5 separate regions of the Homo sapiens genome follow, and regions 2, 3, 4 and 5 are each linked to region 1. Evidence: promoter capture Hi-C in 16 types of primary human blood cells and fetal thymus (Javierre and others, 2016). All regions are on one chromosome and are shown on one strand. The core of a region is centred on a gene start or on the middle of the fragment in contact, and the rest is flanking DNA. Distances in the headings are between cores, read along the strand shown.

What was found. The method cuts DNA at HindIII sites, captures the fragments that hold promoters and counts their contacts. A CHiCAGO score of 5 or more calls a contact.
Region 2: a contact is called between a fragment that was not itself captured here and the fragment with the promoter of OR6K2 in region 1, in 1 of 17 cell types (megakaryocytes). The highest score is 5.1, in megakaryocytes.
Region 3: a fragment that was not itself captured here is called in contact with the fragment with the promoter of OR6K2 in region 1 in 1 of 17 cell types (erythroblasts); the score reaches 5.3 in erythroblasts.
Region 4: a contact is called between a fragment that was not itself captured here and the fragment with the promoter of OR6K2 in region 1, in 3 of 17 cell types (megakaryocytes, erythroblasts and M2 macrophages). The highest score is 8.2, in megakaryocytes.
Region 5: a contact is called between a fragment that was not itself captured here and the fragment with the promoter of OR6K2 in region 1, in 1 of 17 cell types (megakaryocytes). The highest score is 6.3, in megakaryocytes.

Annotation. Positions count from the first base shown.
Region 1 is chr1:158,699,251-158,701,993 of GRCh38, reverse strand. OR6K2 (olfactory receptor family 6 subfamily K member 2) reads left to right here and starts at 1,342. Exons shown (of 1, transcript NM_001005279.3): 1 at 1,342-2,316. The coding sequence starts at 1,342. The coding sequence ends at 2,316. The HindIII fragment of the contact is 9,102 bases long and covers 1-2,743 here.
Region 2 is chr1:159,081,916-159,084,658 of GRCh38, reverse strand. It overlaps a transcript of AIM2 not described here. Among named protein-coding and RNA genes, the nearest start is that of AIM2, 6.5 kb to the right of the region's middle. The HindIII fragment of the contact is 2,342 bases long and covers 224-2,565 here.
Region 3 is chr1:159,003,423-159,006,165 of GRCh38, reverse strand. It overlaps a transcript of IFI16 not described here. Among named protein-coding and RNA genes, the nearest start is that of PYDC5, 2.0 kb to the right of the region's middle. RefSeq lists enhancers at 1-253, 254-779. The HindIII fragment of the contact is 4,916 bases long and covers 1-2,743 here.
Region 4 is chr1:158,983,133-158,985,875 of GRCh38, reverse strand. It overlaps a transcript of PYHIN1 not described here. Among named protein-coding and RNA genes, the nearest start is that of PYDC5, 18 kb to the left of the region's middle. The HindIII fragment of the contact is 1,925 bases long and covers 466-2,390 here.
Region 5 is chr1:158,964,568-158,967,310 of GRCh38, reverse strand. The region is part of intron 7 of PYHIN1 (pyrin and HIN domain family member 1); the gene reads right to left. Among named protein-coding and RNA genes, the nearest start is that of PYHIN1, 34 kb to the right of the region's middle. The HindIII fragment of the contact is 2,926 bases long and covers 1-2,743 here.

The DNA.
Region 1 (2,743 bases), core at 93-2,592:
CAAACATTGGGCAATTGACCTTTGGAAGTTAGTGGCAATGAAGACAGAGGGAGGCCATTAAATTTCAATGAGAAAGTCGCTAGTATACCTTAAGAAAAGAGATATGGGAAGTTGAGGGTGGATACATTATTCAGAGATTCAAAGAAGAATGAATAGAATAAATACCTTTTACACATTGGAAAAATAATGCAGTTGTTACAAAGGAGGGAAATAACCTGAATAGAAACAGTATTTTCTCCCAAGATAAGAAGAAATGTGCATGTTTGATTGCAGAAGAGACAAATAAAGTAAAACAAAACATTCTGAAAAGAGAATAAATTAATAGGACAATTTCCTATAATGTGTGTAGTTTAAATTGTATTCTACAGGGCACTGCAGCTCTGCCCTTCCTTCTAACTACCACCATTCAATTGTACCAGAGCAAGTGTACAACTATATTAAGCATTTATTTATTAATATAGTTAGTTTTCATAAGTTACTACATTTGACCAAAGGCTTCTGGTACAAAACCCCTTTAAGATCTCCTTACCAAGAAGACGTAGAAGAGAAGGAAAGGAAGGAGATAGAATAGACTATCTTATAAAACAAGGTAAAATAACTTATGATTATTTATATGGCTTTTCTTCTCCAAATATTCTCTGAATTATGGTTAAGAATATACATATGAAGAGAGGAAGAGTTATTAGAGAAAGAGGGTTGAAAGAATTCACCAGTAATGGTTTTGTCTTTATTATAAAAATATGCCAATCAAATCATATGCCAAGAATCCAATAAACTGGGAGCTTGAAGAAAAAATATATGGAACAATGTGGGGAGATTATTAGGGAATCAATAAGATTTAAATATCGAAAAGAACGTCCTCTTAATTATTGATTATTCCTTCAATGCTCTGTCTAATTCTATATTCGCCTAAACAAAGTTGTTTTAAAATATAGTCCCCTGACCAGCAGGACCACCATTGCCTGAAAATTTGTTAGAAATGAAAATTCTTGGGTCCTACCTCAGAACTACAGATTAGGACCGAACTCTCAGTATGAGGACCAGCAATATGAGTTTTAACAAGCCCTCCAGGTGATTCTGATGCATGTTAATATATCTGAGAATCTCACATCCAAAATATTGACTGTGCTTTCTGACTGGATTTTTTCCACACTACAACTTAAGTCGTAAGCAACTATAGAATATGGACCATGTCCTTCTTCCTTGTCTTCCTCTCTATCCCCATTACAGGGCTCTATTCAGACGCTGGCTTCTTGTAAGTGTATTCCTTTATCCAATAGTAGATGCCTCCTAGAAGGCTTGAGTGCACTGGAAATTGAAACTCTCACTTTCAACTTGGAGATGGAGAGCCCCAATCGAACCACCATTCAGGAGTTTATCTTCTCCGCTTTCCCTTATTCCTGGGTTAAGTCTGTTGTCTGCTTTGTTCCACTGCTCTTCATCTATGCTTTCATTGTTGTTGGAAACCTGGTCATCATCACAGTGGTCCAGTTGAATACTCACCTCCACACTCCCATGTATACTTTTATCAGTGCTCTTTCTTTCCTGGAGATTTGGTATACCACAGCCACAATCCCAAAGATGCTGTCTAGCCTGCTTAGTGAGAGGAGCATTTCCTTCAATGGTTGTCTCCTGCAGATGTATTTCTTCCATTCCACCGGCATCTGTGAGGTGTGTCTCTTGACAGTTATGGCCTTTGACCACTACCTGGCCATATGCAGCCCTCTTCATTATCCCTCTATCATGACCCCCAAGCTATGTACCCAACTGACTTTAAGTTGCTGTGTTTGTGGCTTTATCACACCCCTTCCTGAGATTGCCTGGATCTCTACACTGCCATTTTGTGGTTCGAATCACCTTGAACATATCTTCTGTGACTTCCTCCCAGTGCTGCGTCTGGCCTGCACAGACACACGAGCCATCGTCATGATTCAGGTAGTGGATGTCATTCATGCAGTGGAGATTATTACAGCTGTGATGCTCATCTTCATGTCCTACGATGGTATTGTGGCTGTAATTCTACGTATTCATTCAGCTGGAGGCCGCCGCACAGCATTTTCCACGTGTGTCTCTCACTTCATTGTCTTTTCGCTCTTCTTTGGCAGTGTGACTCTCATGTACCTACGCTTCTCTGCCACCTACTCTTTGTTCTGGGATATAGCCATTGCTCTGGCCTTTGCAGTTTTGTCTCCCTTCTTCAACCCCATTATCTATAGCCTGAGGAATAAAGAAATAAAAGAAGCTATAAAAAAGCACATAGGTCAAGCTAAGATATTTTTTTCCGTAAGACCAGGGACCTCAAGTAAGATATTTTAGTTGAGATTCTGTATAGTTGCTGGTTCCTCTTCACCTTCAGCTCTCAGCAATCTGTCTTTTCCTATCAACCTTCTATTCAAACTGGTCTCCCAAAGCTCACCAAACCAAACCAAACCAAACCAAACAAAAGGAAACAAATTCAGCAATAGCTAACGTCAATAACTTCTATTTAATCATTACTCAATTAGACATATTTTTCAATCTGACTTTATTAATTACAGTTTCTGCCACTCAAGTTATTCAAAGTAAATTCATTTTGTTGAAATGTTCTGCATAAACATTTACTTTAATTTTAAAGCAATTAAAATATTTGTCTGTAAGACCTGGTAATTTAAAAAGTATCCTTCATAAGACTAAGTTTTATCCATGGTGCCTCTAGCTTCTATAGTTGAAGAATGACTCAAATTTTTAAATTGAGTATCCAAGT
Region 2 (2,743 bases), core at 145-2,644, 380 kb before region 1:
TGGGACTACAGGCATGTGTCACCAAGCCCTGCTAATTTTTAAAATTCTTTGGAGAGATAAGGTCGCCGTTTTTTGCTCAGGCTGGACTTGAACTCCTGGCTTCAAGCGATTCCCCCGCCTTGGCCTCCCAAAGTGCTAGAATTACAGGCATGAGCCACCGTGCCTGGCCTGGGTTTAATATTTTTAATAAAGTTTCTGTCTCCTTAAACTATCAAGGGAAGCTTATGTTGTTTGCAGTAGGAATCTTGAACAGTTCAAGATTGTTGCTTTCTCTCCAGTAGGAAGTCTAGCTGTGTTTTGAGCTGTGTGAAAGGAGAAGGGAAGGATGTGGTGAGCGAGAACCAGAAATAAGTGGGCTTGGAGGAGGGAAGGCCCTGCCTCTCCAGGGTTTTTTCATTTGATCACATTATATAGAATATATAAATTATGTACAAATATGCCAAAAAGCAGGGCAGAGTGATGGAAAGAGAATTGGAATTTTAGAAAATAACCAGATTTAAATTCTGACTCTACCACATACTAGCAGGGTACCCTTGAGCAAATGACTTAACTTCTTTAAACTCTGTTCCCTCACTTATGGGTTTCAATTAATATATTTACCACATAGAGTGGTAGGGTTACATGAGATAGCCTGTGAAAAAGATCTCTCACTTATTGGCTTACTGGCTGAGTGGTAAAGGTTAGCTCTGTGTGCCAGAGGCAATTAGGGACTCTAGAGAATGCATCAATAATTGGTTATATATAGGTGGTCCATAAATATTGACTATTCAATTCCATTGGCCTAGAATTCCACTTTTTGTATTTCCACATGTTAAAACTCTTATTCCTTCCAATAGGACTAGTCCAAGTGCTATTGTTTTTCTCTAATTGGACCTTTCCAAATTCACTTAGCTGGAAGTAAAGAATTCTATTTCTGAAATATTATTATATTTTATCATAGGTCATATTTGGATTAATGGTGTAGAATGTAGATCCTTAGGATAGTATAGAATATAGATCCTTAGAATAGGAAGATACTTGGGTGAGTATTTAGTAGAGCTAAAATTTAGTAGAGCTAAATGGTATAGAATATAAATCCTTAGAATAGGAAGATACTTCAATGAGCATTTAGTAGAGCTATTTATGTTTTAAATTTATTTTCATTCAGTTAATATATTACTATTGATTGAAATTCAATAATATTACAAGGATGATAATAAAGAGTAGTCCCCTGCCTCATACCTTACCACTCCCAATTCCCACTCACTCAAGGCAACATTTTTTAACCTTTCATAATATTGCTACATTCCTAGTTTTCAATTTTAGCCACTCCATTATCTATTGATTTGCTGCAATAGAAGATACAAATTTACTTTTCTTACACCTCTTTTCTTACATTGTTGGAACCCTACATCTTACAAATACATGTACATCATCTCTCTTTCCACTTTCCCAATATGGTCATTTCACAATTGTTGATTAAATCACTGTTTGGTGTTTTACATTACCATAACTATCTAAATAAAACTAATAGTTAAGCCATGTAGTATGTTTAGATTCCTTCTTTATGCATCTTTATTTTTTTCTGAAGTCAGTGACATATCTTTAATAATTTGTTCCATCTTGACGTGCTTATTGCTAATTCTTTTAAAAGATCCAAAACAGTAAAATTTCTCTCAAAATAAATTCAGGTAATTTCTCTGCAACCACCCACTACCTGCAAAACTTACACATATATCTCACACACTTTTTCCTTAGGAAATATTCTTTTTTGAGCTTTCCGTCCCCCTGTTTTGAACAAGTTTCAGTCTAGCTGTGTACAAGTCAAGGTTCAAGGGCTTCTGGTCACCATTATCCTGGGGTGACATCATCCTTGTGGACTGAATGTTTGTGTTACCCCCAAAATTCATATGTTAAAATCCTAACCCCTAATGTGATGATATTAGGAGGTGGGGCTTTGGGGAGGCGATTAGATCTTGAGGGTATGGGCTTCGTGAATAGGATTAGTGCTCTTATACTACGTGGGATAGTGCCCAGGGAGCACTTTCATCTCTTCTGCCATGTGAGGACACAGCAAAAAGCCATCATCTTGCTAGGTGTGGTGGTGCACACCTGCTGTCCAGGACTTAGGGTCCAGCTTTGGCAACATGGCAAGACCTTGCCTTTAAAAAAAAGAAAGAGAGAAAGAAAAGAAAAAAGATGGCTGTCTTTGAACCAGGAAGCAAGTCTTCACCAGGTACTGAATATGCTGGTACCTTGATCTTGGACTTCCCAGCCTCCAGAATTGTGAGAAATAAATGTGTATATAAATTGTTGTTTATAAGTCACTTAGTCTATAGTATTTTTGTTATAGAGGCCCAAACAAACTGAGACATGGAGATTCCTGAATAATTTTGTTCCTTCCTTACATGTACATGTGATTATTATAATTATCAGCTAGGTATAGAAGACGAGGCTGAAAATTGTTTTCCTCAAATGTTAAAGGAATTGCTCCACTCTCTTCTAGCTTCTAGTGTTGTTGTCAAGAATGCCAATTCTATTCTTATTCCTAATCCTCAGATATGATCTATTCTTTCTCAGGAAGCTTTTAGGATCTTCTCTCTCCTTGGTGTTTTGTAATTTTAAAAGCATGTGGCTAGAAAAAAAGAAAGACCTAAAAATCAATCATCTAAGCTCCCACATTAGGAAACTAGAAGAATAAGAGTAAATTAACTGCAAAGTAAGCATAAGAAAATACAGTTTTAAAAAATTAGAGCTGAAATCA
Region 3 (2,743 bases), core at 1-2,500, 300 kb before region 1:
GTGTGGGGTATTTTCTTAACTCGCTTGGGTACAACAATATAAGCACAAGGCAAGCTCAGACCAAAGAAGAGGCAGACCACTCCTGGCTGGTTGGTAGTCAAAGATCTAGATAGCAGAAACTTACACAGGAGGCAGTCTTAAGCGGGAACAAGAGAAGTCAGATCTCCACCTCGCAGTGCACGCCTGAGTAGTCTTTCAGACAGTGAGAAGAAACAAGGAAGGAAAAGCTGATGGGGGCGCTGAGGGGTGGGGATAGCTATACCGATAGTGCCTTAGGCCATCTGGTTGCTCTCTTAATCTATTTACTTCCTGCTTAAATGGATTGTTTGAGCTTCCTTCAATCTGTTCCACATTGCTAAGGAGTGGGAGGATGTTCCTGGAAGCAGCAGTCATCTTGGTGCCAGTATGCATTTTCCAGTGGGACTGCAGCCTCCTACAATTCAATTTAAGCTCAGTTCCCAGAACACGTTTTCACAACAATGCCATTCCTTCCCCTCCAACCTCAAGGCTTCTCTCAGCCAGTCCTTCCTTGAAATTTTGTAGTTTCTGTATTGCAGTTTTGTATTCTACTTTTCCTGTTGCTCAAAGCTAATGCCATAAACTCCAGACAACTCTGTTGGCAGAAAGAGCTTCTGTAGTTCTAGGGATGACCTCTTTACTTTGGAGTGGAATAAAAGAGACTCAGTGTTGAGGCAGGAGAGGAGAGTGAATGCATATGGAAACCTGGGGAGTGATGTGAACCAGTCATGATATACTGTACAAGGCCAGAGTTGGCATCATTCATCTGTTTATTGCATGTCTCATGGAGAAAATATGAGTGAAAGAAGTTTCTGGTTCATGAAAACTCCTGTTCTCTGACCCTCCCTGTAATGGACATGCATACTTTCCCACTGTCTTAGTCCATTTAGTGCTGCTGTAATGGAATACTATAGACTGGGTAATTTATACAGAACAGAAATGTATTTCTCACAGTACTTGAGGTGGAAGTCCAAGGTCAAGCATCAGTATCTGGTGAGGCCTTCTTGCTGTGTCCTCACATGACAAACGGGGCGAATTCACCCCCTACATGCCCGTTAGAGTGGCATTAATCAGTCTATTTACGTGAGTGAAATTCTCATGATCTAAATACCTCCCATTTGGCCCAAGCTCCCAACACTGTTGCATTGGGTACTAAGTTTCAACATTATTTTTGAAGGGGGTAAAAACATTGATAGTTTCTACTTCTCCGGCTTTATCTCTGCTATCTTCATTCTTTATTTGCTTATTTTATCTAAAACTGTTCTCCAGAAAGCATTCTTTGAGGATCTTTACTAGATTGATAATTTCTTTACTCTGTTTAATTTCAGGACTTCACTTTGGCTGTCAAAATTTCCCTTGATATAATTTATCTCTAAAATTGAAGATGAGATTCTCTACTGTTGTCAGTAATGAACTCTCCACCCTAAACATCTGGTTTTGGGAATTTTTTTTCTTTTGAGACGGAGTCTTGCTCTGTTGTGATGGCACGATCTCGGCTCATTGCAACCTCTGCCTCCCAGGTTCAAGTGATTCTCCTGCTTCAGCCTCCTAAGTAGCCAGAATTACACGCATGCACCATCAAGCCTGGCTAATTTCTGTATTTTCAGTAAAGACAAGGTTTCACCATGCTGGCCAGGCTGGTCTCAAACTCCTGATCTCAAGTGACCCACCCACCTCGGCCTCCCAAAGTGCTGGGATTAGAGGCGTGAGTCACGATGCCCGGCTGGTTTTGGGAATTCTTACCCCAAATTACTAACATCTATAATTTACTCAGATTTACTTAGCAATAAGGGCAAAATTAACTGAAATTTAGATTTCTTAACCTTTTTTTTTTCTTTTGGAGATAAGGTCTTGCCATGTTGCCCAGGCTGATCTCAAACTCCAGAGCTCAAACAATCTACCTACCTCAGCCTCCCAAAGTGCTGGGATTACAGGCATAAGCCACCACATCCATCCTTAATATTTTGGCTGGAATTTGGGTATTAATATATTAAGAAGAGAGAAATAAAATTTACAAGTAATGGAGAAGTGGTGTTTGAATTTTATTTCCTTTTATGTTTTAGATTAAGGGTTGACAATCTTTGGTTCAAGGAAAGAAACTGCTGTTCACACAAATAAGTGCTTCTATGTGTTTGAATGTTTAAGGTATCAAGTCATGAGTGTCAGAAATGCAAAATAATACAGAATTGGCTGGGCGCGGTGGCTCACGCCTGTAATCCCAGCACTTTGGGAGGCTGAGGCGGGCGGATCACAAGGTCAGGAGATCGAGACCATCCTGGCTAACACAGTGAAACCCCGTCTCTACTAAAAATACAAAAAATTAGCTGGGCATGGTGGCGGGCGCCTATAGTCCCAGCTACTCGGGAGGCTGAGGCAGGAGAATGGTGTGAACCCAGGAGGCGGAGCTTGCAGCGAGCCGAGCTCATGCCACTGCACTCCAGCCTGGGCGACAAAGCGAGACCCCGTCTCAAAACATAATAATAATAATAATAATAATACAGAATTATGGACATACAAGATAGGAGAAGTTTATGGTGCAAATACCTATCGCCTTGGTCTTTTTGTTCCCTAACTCAGTGACAGGTGGCTAACTGCTCCTTAGGCTGATAGAGCCAAAACGTGATTCCAGCCTAAGAATCACAAAAGAGCAAAACAGAGGAGGGATTGCTTAGGTAACAGAGATCGAGCTCCTTTAGGAATTTGGAATATGGCAAGTTATTTCTTC
Region 4 (2,743 bases), core at 179-2,678, 280 kb before region 1:
GATAAAAATAAAGGAAAAAATAATAAAATATGAACGAAACTTCAAGAAATATGAGTTTATGTAAAGAGACCAAACCTACAACTGATTTGCATCACAGAAAGAGAGGGAGAGAGACCAAGCAACTTGGAGAACATATTTGAAGATATTGTCCCTGAAAATTTACCTGACCTTGCTAGAGAGGTTGACATGTAAATTCAGGAAATTCAGAGTACCCCAGCAAGATATTACACAAGATGACAATCCCTAAGACACATAGTTATCCAATTCTCCAAGATCAAGGTAAATAAAACATATGAAAGGCAGCAAAAGAGAAGAGGCAGATCATGTACAAAGGGAACCCTTATCACACTAACAGTGGACCTTTCAGCAGAAATTTTTCAAGCCAGAAAAGATTAAAGGCCTACATTCAGCATTCTTAAACAAAAGAAATTCTAACCATGATTTCATATCCAGCCGAACCAAGCTTTGTAAGTGAAAAAGAAACATAATCCTTTTCAGACAAACAAACACTAAGCGAATTTGTTACCATTAGGCCTGCCTTATAAGAGGTCCTTCAGGGAGTGCTGAACATGGAAACAAAAGGCTGCTACCTGCCACAAAACAACACACTTAAGTAAATATTCCACTGACACAATATGCAACTATACAATCAAGTCTACATAACAACCAGCTAATAACACTATGACAGGATCAAATCCTTACATATCAATATTAACCTTGAACATAAGCAGGCTAACCACTCCACTTAAAAGGCACAGAATGGTAAGTTGGATAAAGAAGCAAGACTCAATTACATGCTGTCTTCAAGAGACCCACCTTACATGTAAAGACACAGGCTTAAATTAAATGGATGGAGGAATATCTATAAAGCAAATGGAAAACAAACAAAATAGAGCAGGGGTTGCTCTTTTATTTCAGGAAAAAAAAAACAGACCTTAAACCAAAAGCTATCAAAGAGGATGAAGAAGGGCATCACATAATGATAAAAAGTTCAATTCTACAAACAAGACTTAACTATCCTAAAGATGTGTGCATTCAGCACTGGCACAACCAGATTCATAAAACAAGTTCTTAGAGACCTATGAAGAGAACTAGCTAACCTCACAATAATAGTGGGAGAATACAACACCCTACTAACATTGTTAGATAAATCATTGAGGGAGAAAACTAACAAAGATATTCAGGAACAAAATTTCACACTTGACTAAATTGACCTAACAGACATATAAGGAACATTCCACTCAACAACAGAATATACATTCTTCTCATCTGCACATGGCACATACTCTGTGCCACATGCTTGGCCACATGCTTGGCCATAAAGCAATGCTCAGGAAATTCAAAAAACAGAAATTATATCAACCACACTCTCAGATCACAGTGCAACAAAAATACAAATCAATACCAAGAAGATCTCTGAAAATCATAGAAGTATTTGGAAATTAAACAACTTACTCCTGAATGACTTTTGGGTAATAAATTAAATTAATGCAGAAATCAAGAAATCTTTGAAACTAATGAAAACAAAAATACAATATATCAGAGTCTCTGGGACACAGCTAAAGCAGTGTTAAGAGAAAAGTTTATAGCACTAAAGGCCTACATCAAAAAGTCAGAAATATCTTAAATTTATACCTAACATCACATTTACAGGAACTAGAAAAAACAAAAGGAAACCAACCCCCAAACTAGCAGAAGAAAAATAATAATCAAAATCTAAGTTGAACCAAATAAAATTGAGATGTGAAAATTCACAAAAATAATTAAGAAAACTAAAAATTGGTTTTTTGAAAGAATAAGATATATAGACCACTAGCCAGATTAATATACAAAAAAAAAAAAAAAAACAGGAGAAGATCCAAATAAATACAATTAGAAATGACAAAGGGGACATTACCATGGAACCCACAGAAATACAAAAACTCTCAAAGACCATTATGAACAATTTCTATGCTGAAAAACTAGAAAATCTAGAAGAAACAGATAAATTCCTGAAAACATACAACCTGCCAAGATTGAACCAGGAAGACATTGAATACCTAAACAGATCAATAACAAGTTCTGAAATTGAATCCATAATAAAATACCTACAAACCAACAAAAGCCATGGATCAGACAGATTCACATCTGAATTCTACCTGATAGATAAGGAGGAGCTGATACCAATCCTACCAAAATTATTCCAAAATATTGAGGAGCGGAGACTCTGCCCTGAATCATTCTATGAGGTCAGCATTATTCTGATACCAAAACCTGACAGAAACACAAAGGAAAAACAAATTCAGGACAATATGCCTGATAAATATTGATGCAAAAGTCCTCAAAAAAAAATACTAGCAAACTAAATCCAGCAGCACAGCAAAAGCTAAGCCACCATGATCAAGTAAGCTTTACCCCTGGAATGCAAAGTTGGTTCAACATACGCAAATTGGTAAATGTGATTTATCACATAAACAGAACTAAAAACAAAAATCACGTGATTATCTAAATAGATGCAGAAAAGGTTTCAATAAATTCAACATTCTTTCATGTTAAAAACCCTCAACAAACTAGGTATCAAAGGAACATACCTCAAAATGAGACATCTATGACAAAACCACAGCCAACATCATATCACAAATAGGCAAAAGCTGAAATCATACCTCTTGAGAACCAGAACAAGACAAAGTTGCCTACTCTCACTACTCCTGGTTCAACATAGCACTGGAAGTTCTAGCCAGAGCAGTCAGGCAAGAGAAAAAAA
Region 5 (2,743 bases), core at 172-2,671, 270 kb before region 1:
TTGATTTGAAGATTATGAGAAAAATGGATCCAAAGTGATGTACACAGTGCCTGTCACATAAGACACAATATACAAAACAGACTACATTCTAAGAAAACCCTCTCATCCCACAAATAGCCTGCTCTAGAAAAAAATGTAGTATGGTGATTTCCAACCTTGATGAATACAATAAATCCTTTTGTCAATTTTTGTGGCAATTGTGAACGGAATTGCATTCCTGTTTTGACTCTCAGCTTGGATGTTGTTGGTTTATAGGAATGTGTACTGATTTTTGTATATTGATTTTGTATCCTGAAACTTTGCTGAAGTTGTTTATGAGATCAAAGAGCTTTTCTGCAGAGACTATGGGTTTTTCTAAATACAGGATTTTGTCATCTGCAAAAAGTGATAGTTTGACTTTCTCTTTTCCTACTTGGATGCCTTTTATTTCTTTATCTTGCCTGATTCCTCTGGCCGGGATTTCTAGTACTCTATTGAATAGGAATGGTGAGGGAGGCCATCCTTGTCTTGTTCCAGTTTTCAAGGGGAGTGCTTCTAGCTTTTGTCCATAAAGTATGATGTTGGCTGTGGGTTTGTTGGAAATGGTTCTTATTATTTTGAAGTATGTTCATTCAATGTCTAGAGTATTTAGGGTTTTTAACATGAAGGGATGTTGCATTTTATTGAAAGCTGTTTCTGCATCGATTGAGATGATTATGTAGCTTTTTGGTTCTGTTTATGTGATGAACCACATTTATTGTTTTGTATATGTAACTTTGTATTCCAGAGATAAAGCCTACTTGATTGTGTTGGACTAGCTTTTTGAAGTACTGCTAGATTTTGTTTACTTGTATTTTTTTGAGGATTTTTGCATGTATGTTCATCAAGAATAACCACCTGAAGTTTTCTTTTTTTGTTGTGTCTCTGCCTTTTGTTATCAGGATGATGCTGGCCTCATAGAATGAATTGGAGAGGAGTCCCTCCTCCCCAGTTTTTTGAATAGTTTTAGTAGGAATGGTACCAGCTCATCTTTATGCATCTGATAGCATTTGGCTGTGAATCCATCTGGTCATGGGCTACTTTTAGTTGGTAGACTTTTTCTTACTGATTCAATTTCAGAACTTGTTATTGGTCTATTCAGTTATTCAGTTTCCTCCTGGGTTAGTCTTCAGAGGTTGTATGTGTCTAGGAATTTATCCATTTCTTCTAGGTTTTATAGCTTGTGTGCATAGAGGTGATTATAGTAGTCTCTGAAGGATTGTTGTATTTCTGTGGGGTCAGTGGTAATTTCCCTTGGTCATTTCTAATTGTGTTTATTTAGATCTTGTCTCTTTTTTTAGTCTATCTAGCAATCTTTCTTATTAATTTTTTCAACAGATGAACTCCTGGATTCGTTGATCTTTGTCTGTTTTTTTCACATCTCAATTTCTTTTAGTTTAGCTCTGATATTGGTTATTTCTTTTCTCCTGCTGGCTTGGGGATTGATTGTTCTTGCTTTTCTAGTTCTTCTAGTTGTGATGTTGGGTTGTTAATTTGAGATCTTTTAAATTTTTTGATGTGAGCGCTTAGTGCTACAAACCTCTCTCTTAAGACTGACTTAGCAATGTCCCAGAGATTCTGATGTATTTTATCTTTGTTCTCATTAGTTTCAAAGAATTTCTTTATTTCTGCCTTTATTATTCACCCAAAAGTCATTCAGGAGAAGGCTGTTTAATTTCCATGTAATTGTATGGTTGGAGCCATTTTCTTACTATAGATTTATACTTTTATGCACTGTGTTCTGAGAAGGTGGTTGGTATGATTCTGTTTTCTTGAATTTGCTGAGGATTGTTTTATATCTGATCGTGTGGTCGACTTCAGAGTGTGTGCTATGTGGCAGTAAGAAGAATGTGTGTTCCATTGTTTTAGGTTGAGAGTTCCATAAATGTCCATTAGGTCCATCTTGTCAAGTATTGAGTGCAGTTCCTGAATATCTTTGCTATTTTTTTTTGTTTGCCTGAATGATCGATCTAATACTGCCAGTGTGGTATTGAAGTCTCCCACTATTATTGTATGTGACTCTAAGTCTCTTTGTGGGTCTCTGAGAACTTGTTTTATGAGTCTAGGTGCTCCTGTGTTGTGTGTGTATATATTCAAGGTAGTTAGGTCTTCTTGTTGAATGAAAGCCTTTACCATTATGAAATGCCCTTCTTTGTCTTTTTAACTCTTTGTTGGTTTAAAGTCTGTTTTTTCTGAAATTATGATGGCACCCTCTGTTTTTTTTTTCTGCTTTCTATTTGTTTGGTAGATTTTTCTTTGTCCTTTTATTTTGAGCCAATGGGTGTCATTGCATGTGAGACAGGTCTCTTGAGGACAGTATACCATTGGGTCTTGCTTCTTTATCCAGCCTGCCACTCTGTGACTTTTAAGTGGAGTGTGTAGCCTGTTTACATTAAAGGTTAATATTGACATCTGCAGATTTGATCCTGTCATTGTGTTGTTAGCTGATTATTATGCAGACTTGTTTCTGTGGTTGCTTCATAGTGTCACTATTCTGTGTACTTAATTGTGTTTCTGTAGTGTCTGGTAATGTTCTTTCCTTTTCATACTTAGTGTTCCTTTCAGTATCTCTTATAAGGCAGGTCTGGTGGTAACAAATTCCCTCAGCATTTGCTTGTCTGAAAAGGATCTCATTTCTTTTTCATTTTTGATGCTTTGTTTGGCTGTATGTGAAATTCTTGCTTGGAAATTATTTTCTTTAAGAATGCTGAATATAGGTCCCAAG